Regions from separate parts of the Homo sapiens genome. Here region 1 is linked to region 2. The links are contacts of gene promoters, found by promoter capture Hi-C in blood cells and fetal thymus (Javierre and others, 2016). All regions are on one chromosome and are shown on one strand. Each heading gives the region's core, a stretch centred on a gene start or on the middle of the fragment in contact. The rest is flanking DNA. Distances are from core to core; before and after follow the strand shown.

The links. The method cuts DNA at HindIII sites, captures the fragments that hold promoters and counts their contacts. A CHiCAGO score of 5 or more calls a contact.
Region 1: a contact is called between a fragment that was not itself captured here and the fragment with the promoter of TSPAN3 in region 2, in 1 of 17 cell types (monocytes). The highest score is 5.3, in monocytes.

Annotation. Positions count from the first base shown.
Region 1 is chr15:76,337,099-76,342,407 of GRCh38, reverse strand. It overlaps ISL2 (ISL LIM homeobox 2), which reads right to left. Exons shown (of 6, transcript NM_145805.3): 2 at 4,441-4,630; 3 at 3,894-4,156; 4 at 1,849-2,132; 5 at 1,107-1,274; 6 at 1-689. The coding sequence ends at 573. LOC124903532 reads left to right here. Exons shown (of 1, transcript XM_047433420.1): 1 at 1-15. Among named protein-coding and RNA genes, the nearest start is that of ISL2, 3.0 kb to the right of the region's middle. RefSeq lists enhancers at 1,515-2,270, 2,468-2,677, 2,698-2,767, 4,315-5,126, 5,295-5,309. The HindIII fragment of the contact is 7,335 bases long and covers 1-5,124 here.
Region 2 is chr15:77,067,702-77,072,768 of GRCh38, reverse strand. It overlaps TSPAN3 (tetraspanin 3), which reads left to right and starts at 1,660. Exons shown (of 7, transcript NM_005724.6): 1 at 1,660-1,877. The coding sequence starts at 1,815. RefSeq lists an enhancer at 1,294-1,353 and silencers at 1,494-2,193, 4,815-4,904. The HindIII fragment of the contact is 12,417 bases long and covers 1-2,796 here.

The sequences.
Region 1 (5,309 bases), core at 208-2,707, 730 kb after region 2:
ATAACAATAACTTACGTTTGTTTGTTCGGCAAAGGCTCACATACTCTGTCCTCCGTCGAATAACTTAAACACTTTCAAGGCAAGTCTGGTTTCTACTGTTTCCCAGCAATCATGCGCTTTGGGAGTTTGAGTGTCTGTTCCTCTGAGTTATCCCCTTCCTTTTCCCCGCTAGGAGCCCGGGCGAAGCCGCCAGGGAGCGCTGAGCTGGGGCAGGGCGGGGGTCCGCGTGGGCGAGCTCCGGGCCGGCCGAGATGGGGACACAGGTGGGGCGTGGAGAGACAGAGCGGCGGCCACGTAGAGAGGAGAGGAGAGGGCAGAGCTAACCCTGGTAAGTCCCAGATTCTGGTTTTGAAAAACTAAGAGTCCTCGGAGCAGGGGTCTGCAGTCTGGTGAAAGCAGGTTGCATCCTGGCGCCTTGGGCTGTCCAGACCGTGTCTCTCGGTACTCTCTCATAAATAACAATAGAATAATTACGAAGGCGAGAGAGCTTTCGGAACTGGAATGGCCTGAGCATGGGTGAGTCTCATGCAGGGAGCATGCGAGGTCCGCGGGCTGGCAGGGAGGGGTCCCCCTCACGTCTCCACGGGACTCGGCACCATACTGTTGGGGGTGTCCGGGAGCTGCGAGGACAGGGAGGTCACGTCGCTGCCGGAGGAGTTGCCTAGGGAGCCGGACTCGGAGAAGGAGACCTGGGGCGGCGGAAACACCGGGAAGAGGCAGGTGAAGAGGCACGCGAGCTGGTGCTCCAGGGCCGCGTGCTCCGAGTCGGAAAGTGTCCCTTGGGGACCGGCCGCCAGCTGAGAGCAAGCCCTGCGGAGAAGGAGGCCAGGTCCCCAGGCGCACGAGGGGGGGATTAGGGCGGGGGAGCGGGTTGGTTAATCCTGCGACCTCTCTTGTGAGCACTTTAATCCAGGGAGACCTGGTTTAGGGCGCGTAATGGGCCGAGGTGAGGTTTCAGAGCCCGCCACTGTTCCCCCTCCCCCACCGCCTAGGGCTGTACCCAGCCCCTCAGCCCAAGGCCACCCCCTCCCCTCTCTGCCAGGCTAAGTGGCTAAATCCCCAACCCGCAGAGTCCCGAGGTCGGGGCGGGTAGGGCAGGGCCTCACCAGCTGTTGGAAGGCGGGTTGGTCCAGGTCGCTCTGGAGGGCAAACTCGCTGAGCGCCTTCCACGGCGGCTGGTACGTCTGCACCTCCACTGCGCTGCCCTGCACGGCGTTCTCATGGCGGATGGGACTGCCCGCCACCAGGGGCGTCCCAGTCAGTCCCTGAAGGCTCTGCGGGGCAAGCAGAAGGCAGTAGGTGCTCGAGTTAGGTCTGGCCTTTTCTGCCACCTTTGAGACTGGAGCTCCAGGCCTTGAGTGATTTAGGGTCTGCATTGCTTTGCGGGGAGGCGCACACTCGATCGCATCGGAAGAGCCCTCTTTCTCCACTGGGGATCTGCGGGGGCCGCAAACTTGCCACGATAGGTCAGCCTCGGTGCTGGAAGCCAACCGCCCGGTGAGGAAAGGCAAGACCTGCACTCCCACCTTTCTGCAGCTGCCGACGGAGTGCACAACCCACCAGCCCGACTGGCGGGCGCTGCACACTGCCATGCAGCCTTGGGCTCCGCGCAGCGCCCGGAACCCGCAACGCGGGGCTGCCACTGGGACAAGGAGAAACCCCGATCCCAGACAAAATAGGAAGCCTCAAATCCAAGGGAAGCCTTGCTGTGAAGGTACAGACATACACCATCTGGAGCGCCCAGTTCTCCCTGGATCTCCCAGGGCTCGCCCAGAAAAGGGCACGCAGATACCGCGGCGGAAGCGCAGCCCCCACCCGACTCGAGCCTCCGGCCCAGCGGCTGCTCACCGTCTTGTCGCTGTGCTGCTGCTGCTGCAGCTGCTTCATGAGAATGGATTTCTTCTTGTCCTTGCAGCGCTTGTTCTGGAACCAGACGCGGATGACCCGCGGGCTCAGGCCGGTCATCTCCACCAGCTGCTCCTTCATGAGAGCGTCGGGCCGCGGGTTGGCGGCGTAGCAGGTCCGCAGAGTGTGCAGCTGCTTCTCGTTCAGCACAGTCCGCACGCGGGTCGTCTTCTCCGTCTGCTTGTGCACGTGCGGGCGCAACGCGGGCTGCCGGCCCGACCCAGCGTCTGCCAGGACAGGGTGAGGCCAGAGGTTAGCGAGGGGCCGCCACCCACCCGCCCCGAGCCCAACCTCCGGGTGGCCCAGCCCCCCGGGGCCCGATTTCGTTTCTGTTTTATTCTGTTTGTTTCGTTTAATTGTTCGTCTTCCTCTCCATCTGTTCGCCTTACTCGGAGAGAGCTGTGCATTTTCGTTCTTTCTCTCGCTCCCGGGCCGGACTGCCCCGCAGCGATCTCTCCCGAGCTCAAGCAGGGCGCGGGAGCTCGGCGACAGGCCGCTGCGGGGAGGGAGTGGCTGCTCAGGGATGTGCCTCCTCCAGTCGCAGGACCCTCGGAACGAGCGAAGCCCTCCGGAAGAAGTCGGAGTTTCAGAGGAAGAGGAAAGAGGCTTGCCCAGGACTCTGGAGAGGGAAAGGGACCGACGTGGACCCAGGGCGAGGCGCTGCCCAGGGGACTGGGTGGGAGGTGCGAATATGCCGGGGGCCTACGAGGGCCCTTCCCCTCCTTCAGAGCCCATTTGGACAGGGCCAGGCCACATGTGTAGAAGACTCATCCACGGTTATGGACGGGCCTCCAGGGCTTGCAACAGTTCCTTCCTGCCCGCCCTTGGGCTTCGGCCCCTGTCTCCTTCCTCAAGGCTCCAGGTTCCCCAGCCCAGTGGCCTCCCACCGACCAAGGTGCTGAGCAGCCGCTGGCACTCTCCTCGCTTGGCCCCAGGTTCTCTCCATCCCGGGGAAACAGTGACTGATTCCAGAGCCTGCACCCTGAAGCCCGAAACAAACAAAGGGGAGCCTCTCCGAGATCCCAGATGGGGGTGCACTGAATACCCGCTTGCTCCCATTTCACATCTCCATTTGATCCCGACCCATATATACCGTGGATCTGTACTGCACCATTTCGGTTTATGTTCCCCTCTACGAATTTCTAGGTCTGGACAAATATTTACAAATAGCCCATCCAGCCCAGTTTCCTCTTTCTATAGGGAGGAAGTGAAGATCCAGAGAGGGGAGGAGCGGGGCAAGGCCACACAGCACCCAGAGGCCCAGCCTGGTCTACGGATCTGTGCTGCAGGCCTATGGCTACCTGGGGGAAACTGCCTTGCCTGGGGTGGAGGCACCTCTGTTTCTGTTCAGCCGTACCTGCCCATTATACACTCAGACCCCATCTCTGGGCAGCTGCTGATTAGGACCCAGAATATTCCAGTGACAGTCCACTATGCATTGATACTCCCCCTCCCCCAGAAGAACCTGGCTAAATTGTTCATCAAACTGGGCCTCAAAACAAGATGGCAAAAACCCCTCTTTGTTGGGTTCTTGGCTCCTGGCTGACCAAGCTCCTGCCCAGCTCCCAGTTTGGAGCTGTGTTACTTACACACATACCCCTGGGCAAACCTTACCCTCTGACAATAACACATATTCCTCCAAGAAATTCCTAATACAAGCCCCAAGACGGACACCACTTAAGATTCCCTGTTGTCATCCACTCTTCTGCTCCTAGCACTGTGCCCTGCATGTTCCTGGTCATGGAGAACACGATTCTGCACAATTCTCCGTGCTCACACACTCATACACACGCAGTTTCTCCCGAGCACACGAGAATACACACAGCCTTGTTCCCAGCACACAGTTCCGCACTGATACAGAAAAACACTATCCCGGCAGACGGAACCACACACAACTGACAACTTCTCGTTAGGGACACAAGCGTACCCCTACACACACGCACGCACATACACCCCGCTCACCCCGGCACAGGCCCCGGCGCGCTTACCGGGCAGATGCAGGCCGCGGGCGCCGGGAAGCGGGCCGGGGCTGCGCGGGCTGCCGGCCGCGGCGCGCTCGAGCAGGAGGCCGTGGTCGGCGCGGCAGAGCAGCTCGTGCTCCCGCAGCGAGAACTCGTCCCCAGGCAGCAGCTGGCGGCTGCACACGGAGCAGCGGAAGCACTCGATGTGGTACACGCTGTCCCGCGCCCTCATCACCAGGTCGCTGCTGCTGAAGCCCACCTGGCACTTGGCGCACTTGATGCCGAACAGCCTGCGGGCCCAAGGTGCGGCGGTGTCAGCGCTGGGCCTGCGGCCGCCCTCATCTCCCTGGCTGCTACGGCTCCGGCGCGCGCCCAGGACACTTTGTGGCCACCAGGAGACTGCGGTGACCCGCCTGCGGGCATTCCCGGGCCCGGGGGAGCGCTGCGGCACCCGTGCGGGATGCGGATGGCCTTCTCCCTGGGCAGGGCCGGGGCGCGCGGGCAGGCCGCCATCCCCAGTCCCGGCCCCGGCCCCTGCGCGCGGTGGCCCAGCCCGCGTTCCCGCCGGCCTCACCTGACATAGTCCCGCTTGCAGTAGGTCTTCCCGTCTCTCACGAAGCACGTGCACGTCTCGTCCAGGTACTGGCTGCACTCGGCACACTTGAGGCAGGCCGCGTGCCACTCGAGGTCGGGCGACACCCGCAGGATAAACTGGTCGTGGATCTGACTCCCGCAGCCCACGCACATGGCCGTCCCGGGCTTCTCTGCCGGGGAAGGGCGCGGGGCCGCGTCAGGCCTGACTGCCCGGACCCAGGCCGGCCTCGGCTACTCCAGCCCCAACCCAACCCGCTCGCTCTCTTGCTCTTTCTTTCAAGACTTGCGACCATAAGGAAAGATGATGAGCTCTCTAAAGGTCCAGGGCATTGGAAACGAAAAACCAGTATCTTGTGGATTGCTGAAGGTTTCTTCTGTCCCCCACCCCAAATATTTCGTTATTACATTCATTAATGACAGTCGTTTTGTCGACGTGTCTTGAAACTAAACGCAAACACGAAACTAAGAAGAGAGTAAATACACAGGCACTGCGGACGCCTGGATATCAACACCTAACGGTGCTGTCCTGGCATTTCCGCTCACACACTCCCACTCACAGCGGCTGCCTCCTATCCCAACACAGACACATCGTCTTTCGGCAGTCCCCGCTCATCCTCTCAGACATTTCTTAGTTTAAATATCCCAGAGCAAGCGAAAGAAAGCTTCCTAGCTTTGAAAAACCGAAAGGCAAACAAACAACAACCAAAAAAAAAAAAACCCACATCCCTAAATCAAACCTAATTGCCTTTGCGCAAAACAGAAGCAGATTTCGCAGCCCGAAGTCATCCTAGCCGGCTTGAGAAATAGTGTTTACTTATAAAATAAAACAACAGGATTCCCAAAGATAAG
Region 2 (5,067 bases), core at 411-2,910:
GCAAAGGGGATGTTTTGGAAAAGGAGGAAAAGCACTCAGAGCAAAGCAGACAGAGAAATTTACAGAGGGCAGAGGCGTCAAGAAGATAGATGTTCAAAGGGAATCATGTTTGAGAGCCCATCATTTTTCTTTCTTTAACTAGGACCTCCATGGTATGGCAAGAATGGCACTTGAAACACTTAGATGGTGTTACTGGTCTGCTCAAAGGCTTCTGCCTGGCGTAGTAGGCTGTTGGTGATCCGGCCTCGCTCACCTCCAGCACACTAGGCTCTCTGTGTTCCCCTTCCTACAGCACAGTGATCATGTTCCGGTCTCTGGGCCTTTGTCCTTGCTGCTCTCATCTTTGGGCTGTTCCCCTCACCTCCCTTGGGTCCCCTCCAATGTTCTCTCCTCAGAGAGGACTCCTCTCATCACTCTATTCCTTTCCTCTGAATTGTTTCCTAACACTACCTCATGTCATATACCCACTTGCCCGTTTGTTTATGGTCTGCCTCCTCTGCCCGAACGAATGTAAGCCATGGAAGGAAGGATACGTCTTGCTCACAGTGGAATATCCACCACCGACAACAGTGAGGCCCAGAGGGGACACGCGGCAAGTTTGATGAGTGAATAAATGGCTGTTGCTGCTGCTTGGTGTAAATGCACAGGATGCTGAGATTAACAGGTACTTCTGAGAGTGCCTGGGAAAGGTGATGAGTGGGGGAGATTGCATGAGAGCGAGCTGATAAAGACCAGTAAATGGAAATCCTTACGGGCGCGGTCAAGGAGGGAGTGCAGGATTATAATGGCAGGAAAGACAGCAAACAGAGGCAGTTTATTGTGTGACTGATGATGTGTTTTTTGCACTAGACCACTTACTATGTGTGGCTCTGGGCGAACTTCTTAACCTTTCTAAGCCTCAATTACCCGATCAGTAAAATGAGGCTGATAACCATAGTGCCTTCCATCCAGGGTTGTGGTGGGGGTTAAATGAACTAATGGAGCCTGGCACCGGGTGAGCACCCAATAATTAATTGCTATGACGGATTCAAGATTGGGGGAAGAATGTGAAATGTTGCAATGCAAAGAGATGTTTCTGTAATCGTTGCGAATCTTGGTCCAAAACTTACTACCCTGGAATAGAACTTGTTCCCAACCACTCACCCACACAAACATGTCTCTGCCTTGCTAACGCCATCACCAGCCTTTTCTCCTCTCTGACTCTTCTGAGGTCTAGCCCAGCGCCTGGTACAATAAGTTTCTCCATAAGTATTTGTTGTTTTTCTTTGCACTTCTCACCAACAGTGCTGCCAAGATTTTAACCTGGTCAGGAGAATCTGGTCAGGCAGAGATTAGTGTCTCCAACCTTCCTAGGGGAGAATGGGCTAGGTAGAAAGATAGCACTCAGAGGGCTCTGAATCATCTATAAGGGTGGCATAGTCATAGGAGGAGAGTGGGTTTGGTCCACCAGAACCTCCCTAGGGAGCCATCTGCGTCCAAGGGCGGCCAGAGGCCAAGAAAAGGCGCTGAGGCCTTGGCTCCTTTAAGAGGCGTGGCCTCACTGCAGCCTCCGCAGAGGCGATTGGCTGAAGCTACCGGCCGCGTGGGGCGGGACTCGGTTGCCAGGGAGCGGCGCGGGAGCCCTGAGGGGACTGCGGCGGCTGCGCGGAGGAGCGAGGCACTTGCTGGGGTCGGGGCTGCGCGACGGCGCAGGGGCTGCGGGGAGCGCCGCGCAGGCCGTGCAGTTCCTAGCGAGGAGGCGCCGCCGCCATTGCCGCTCTCTCGGTGAGCGCAGCCCCGCTCTCCGGGCCGGGCCTTCGCGGGCCACCGGCGCCATGGGCCAGTGCGGCATCACCTCCTCCAAGACCGTGCTGGTCTTTCTCAACCTCATCTTCTGGGTGAGCGGGGCCGGGCAGAGCGAGGGGCCGGCGGCGGGGCCGGGCGAGGCCGCGGCGGAGGCGCCCGTGGGGGCCGGGCTTGGGCCTGGGCGGGCGCGCGGGGGCCGCGCGCGGGCCCTCAGGCGGCTGAGGCGAGGGGAGGGCCGGGTGTGAGGCCGCTTCGCGAGGTCCCTGCCGGACCAAGCCGGGAGCCTGGGCGCGGAGGACAGCGAGGGGAGGCCTTCAGGGACTCCACGGCCTCCAGCCGGCGCCTCCGCGCTCGGCCCACGCGGGCTGGCTCCGTGCCAGGCGCCCCAGTCTCCCCCCCCCGGAGTCGCCGGCTGGACGGAGAGCGCTTATTGCAGACTGTAGCAGGACGTCGGGCTCGAAATAGGATCTTCGCCAGAGGCTCAGGTTCCGCGCTCTTTGTCGGGGCCTCGCAGACGAGTGGCCGTCCCGAGGCGGGCAGATCCGCGGGGACGCTGCGGAGCCGGGGCGGGGGTTCCACTTAACGCCCTTTGTGTGTGGAGAACCGGCTGACTGTCACCAGCCCAGAAAATGAAGGGTTTCAACTCGAGGAGCCAAATAATCCATTGACCAAGAACATCGGTCTATTTGTTTTGGTCATGGGGGTGACCAAACTGTGAGATTATAACTCTTGGTTAAATATATGATGGAGATGTCACAAGATTTTGAAAGTGATGAGTTCACTTTCAATAAAAGGTGGCTTATGAATTTTTAAGGGGTACACCCTCTTTGAAAGGAATGTTTATGTCATCTTAGTTTGGGTCCTTATCTCATCAGGGACTTTTATAGTAACCTAAGTTGTTCCTATCCGTCTCTCCACCCTCCAGCCCATCTGGACTTTGCACCCGGATAAATCTTTTAAAACGTTTCCTCTATCACATCACTTGATCTGAAAATAAGGAAAACAGAAGCTTCAGCGGTAGAATAAGGTTCAACTCCTTCCCCTGGTCTTGGAGCAGAAGTCCTCAGTCTGGTCCCAAATCACCTTGCCTCTCTGAACTTGTCATTTCCTTAAACACTTGAGTGCCCTGGACAGATTGCTCTGTCCACAGTCGCCAGAGCACTCCTTGAACATTCCGGTTAACCATACTGTGCCTCTTCCTCCTCCCCATTCAGCTCCTCCCTCCCACGCATACGCACACCTGTTCTGGAAAGAATCCTTTCCTCCTCCCCCGACCCCCCAACAAGGGATAAAACTTCATATCCTGACAGCTGTCTCATAAAAGGATGGTTATATGTTAAAAAGCACTTGCTACACACTTGTATTGCCAGAGTCCTTCGGGGCGTTTGTGTGTGAAGAGTCCTAACTGGGAGGTAGTAGCTGTTGGCAAACACCCAGGCGACATTGGCATTTCCGTGATTTCTTCTTTTCCAATTAGAGCAGTGTTTCTTATACTTTAATTTGAGTTACAGGCTTATTTATTTATTTTATTTTATTTTTTCAGTTTCTTGAGTTTATTGTGAAGAATGAAATGCACATATAGAACCAGTTCCATTAGCAAAAGTCGTATCAGTCTTCTCTTTGTAGATGTGGCATGATTTGTGAATCTGACCATTATAAGGGCATCTTTTGCTAATTTAATACGTATCTATATACCTACTGCTACTTATGCATCCATAACATTTTTTATTCCATAAAGAGAAATGTATTCTACAATGATTAAGTCATTAATTCTCATAGCATCTCGTTATAAACCAGGAGTCAGCAATCTCTGGCCCAAGAGCACAAAACGGTTAGCTACCTGTTTTTCTACAACCTGAGAGCCCAGAATAATATTTACATTTCTAAATGACTGGAAAACAAATGAAAAGAAGAATACTATTTCTTGGCATGTAGAAATTATATGACGTTCTCCTACCATTCGACCCAGCAATCCCACTACTGGGTACATACCCAAAGGAATATAAATCATTCTGTTATAAAGACACTTGCACGCATATATTCACTGCAGCACCGTTCACAATAGCAAAAACATGGAACCAACCCAAATGGCCATCAGTGGTAGACTGGACAAAGAAAATGCGGCACATATACACCATGGAACACCACGCAGCCACAAAAAAGAATGAGATCATGTCCTTTACAGGGACATGGATGGAGCAGGAAGCCATCATCCTCAACAAACTGATGCAGGAACAGAAAACCAAGCACCGTGTGTTCTCACTTATTTTTTATTTATCTTTTTTAAGAGTTACAGGCTTTTTTAAAAGGAAAAATAATTTTCAGGGGTCCCCAAATGAGAAACACGTTGTCAGCTAGTAAGCTACCTAAGAGGTAAAGATGTGGCTTTGTACTCTTTACAGTTCCTTGTGAATTTATGGCCATAACTATTTGATTTTGAAGAATATTAGGTGAATTCTAGGTTATTCAAGCTCAGGGACTGGAATTGTTCATGTAACAAAATATTGGAAATACAGTAACCATTTTCTTTAAATTAGATTTTTATTTACTCTAAAATATCAGTTCTAAGTGACTCCTCTGAATCTTTGGATATTGTGTAAATATATGTACTGTTATTCCAGTGAAGAAAGTTATTTTGAACTTCAGTGGTGCTTTTCATAGCGGGTTATTGCCAAGACTGAAGTGGTAATGTTTAGTAAAAATATGCTTTATCTTGGTTAGTAGGGTAGTAAAGTTTTTGTGAGCTGTGATAAGGAAGTTAAGCAGATACGCTGGGGGCAAATGTGTCACAGTGCAATGTAGCTAATGAGGAAACAGCATTAGGTATGTCTCCCAAGAAAGTATTAGTTTGTGGACTAACTGTGGGAATCTGATGATGATGGGTAATGGCAACTAACATTTGAGTTACTATACCCCAGGCACTGTGCTAAACACTTTACATGGCATATCCTCACAGCTTTCCCATCTAGCAGGGAATATTAGGTACATTTTAGAGGAGAACATTAAGGTTGACTGAGCCAAAGTAGCACACCCAAGGTGTGATACAGCCTGCGTTCAAACCCAGGTTGTCCCATACTCTAGAGACTGTGATGTTAGGACAAAGTGTGATTTCAGAAGATTTGTAAAGAGAAGAAAGTTGTTAGAATCACTTCTCTAAAGCATGCTGATTTTGAGATTGCTAAAATTAGAAACTGTACCAGAATTTACATGACACTTTGTTTGGTTTTGAATTAAGTCATTATGAGGAAGTACATTAAAAAATGTTAAAAGGTTCTTCCTGGG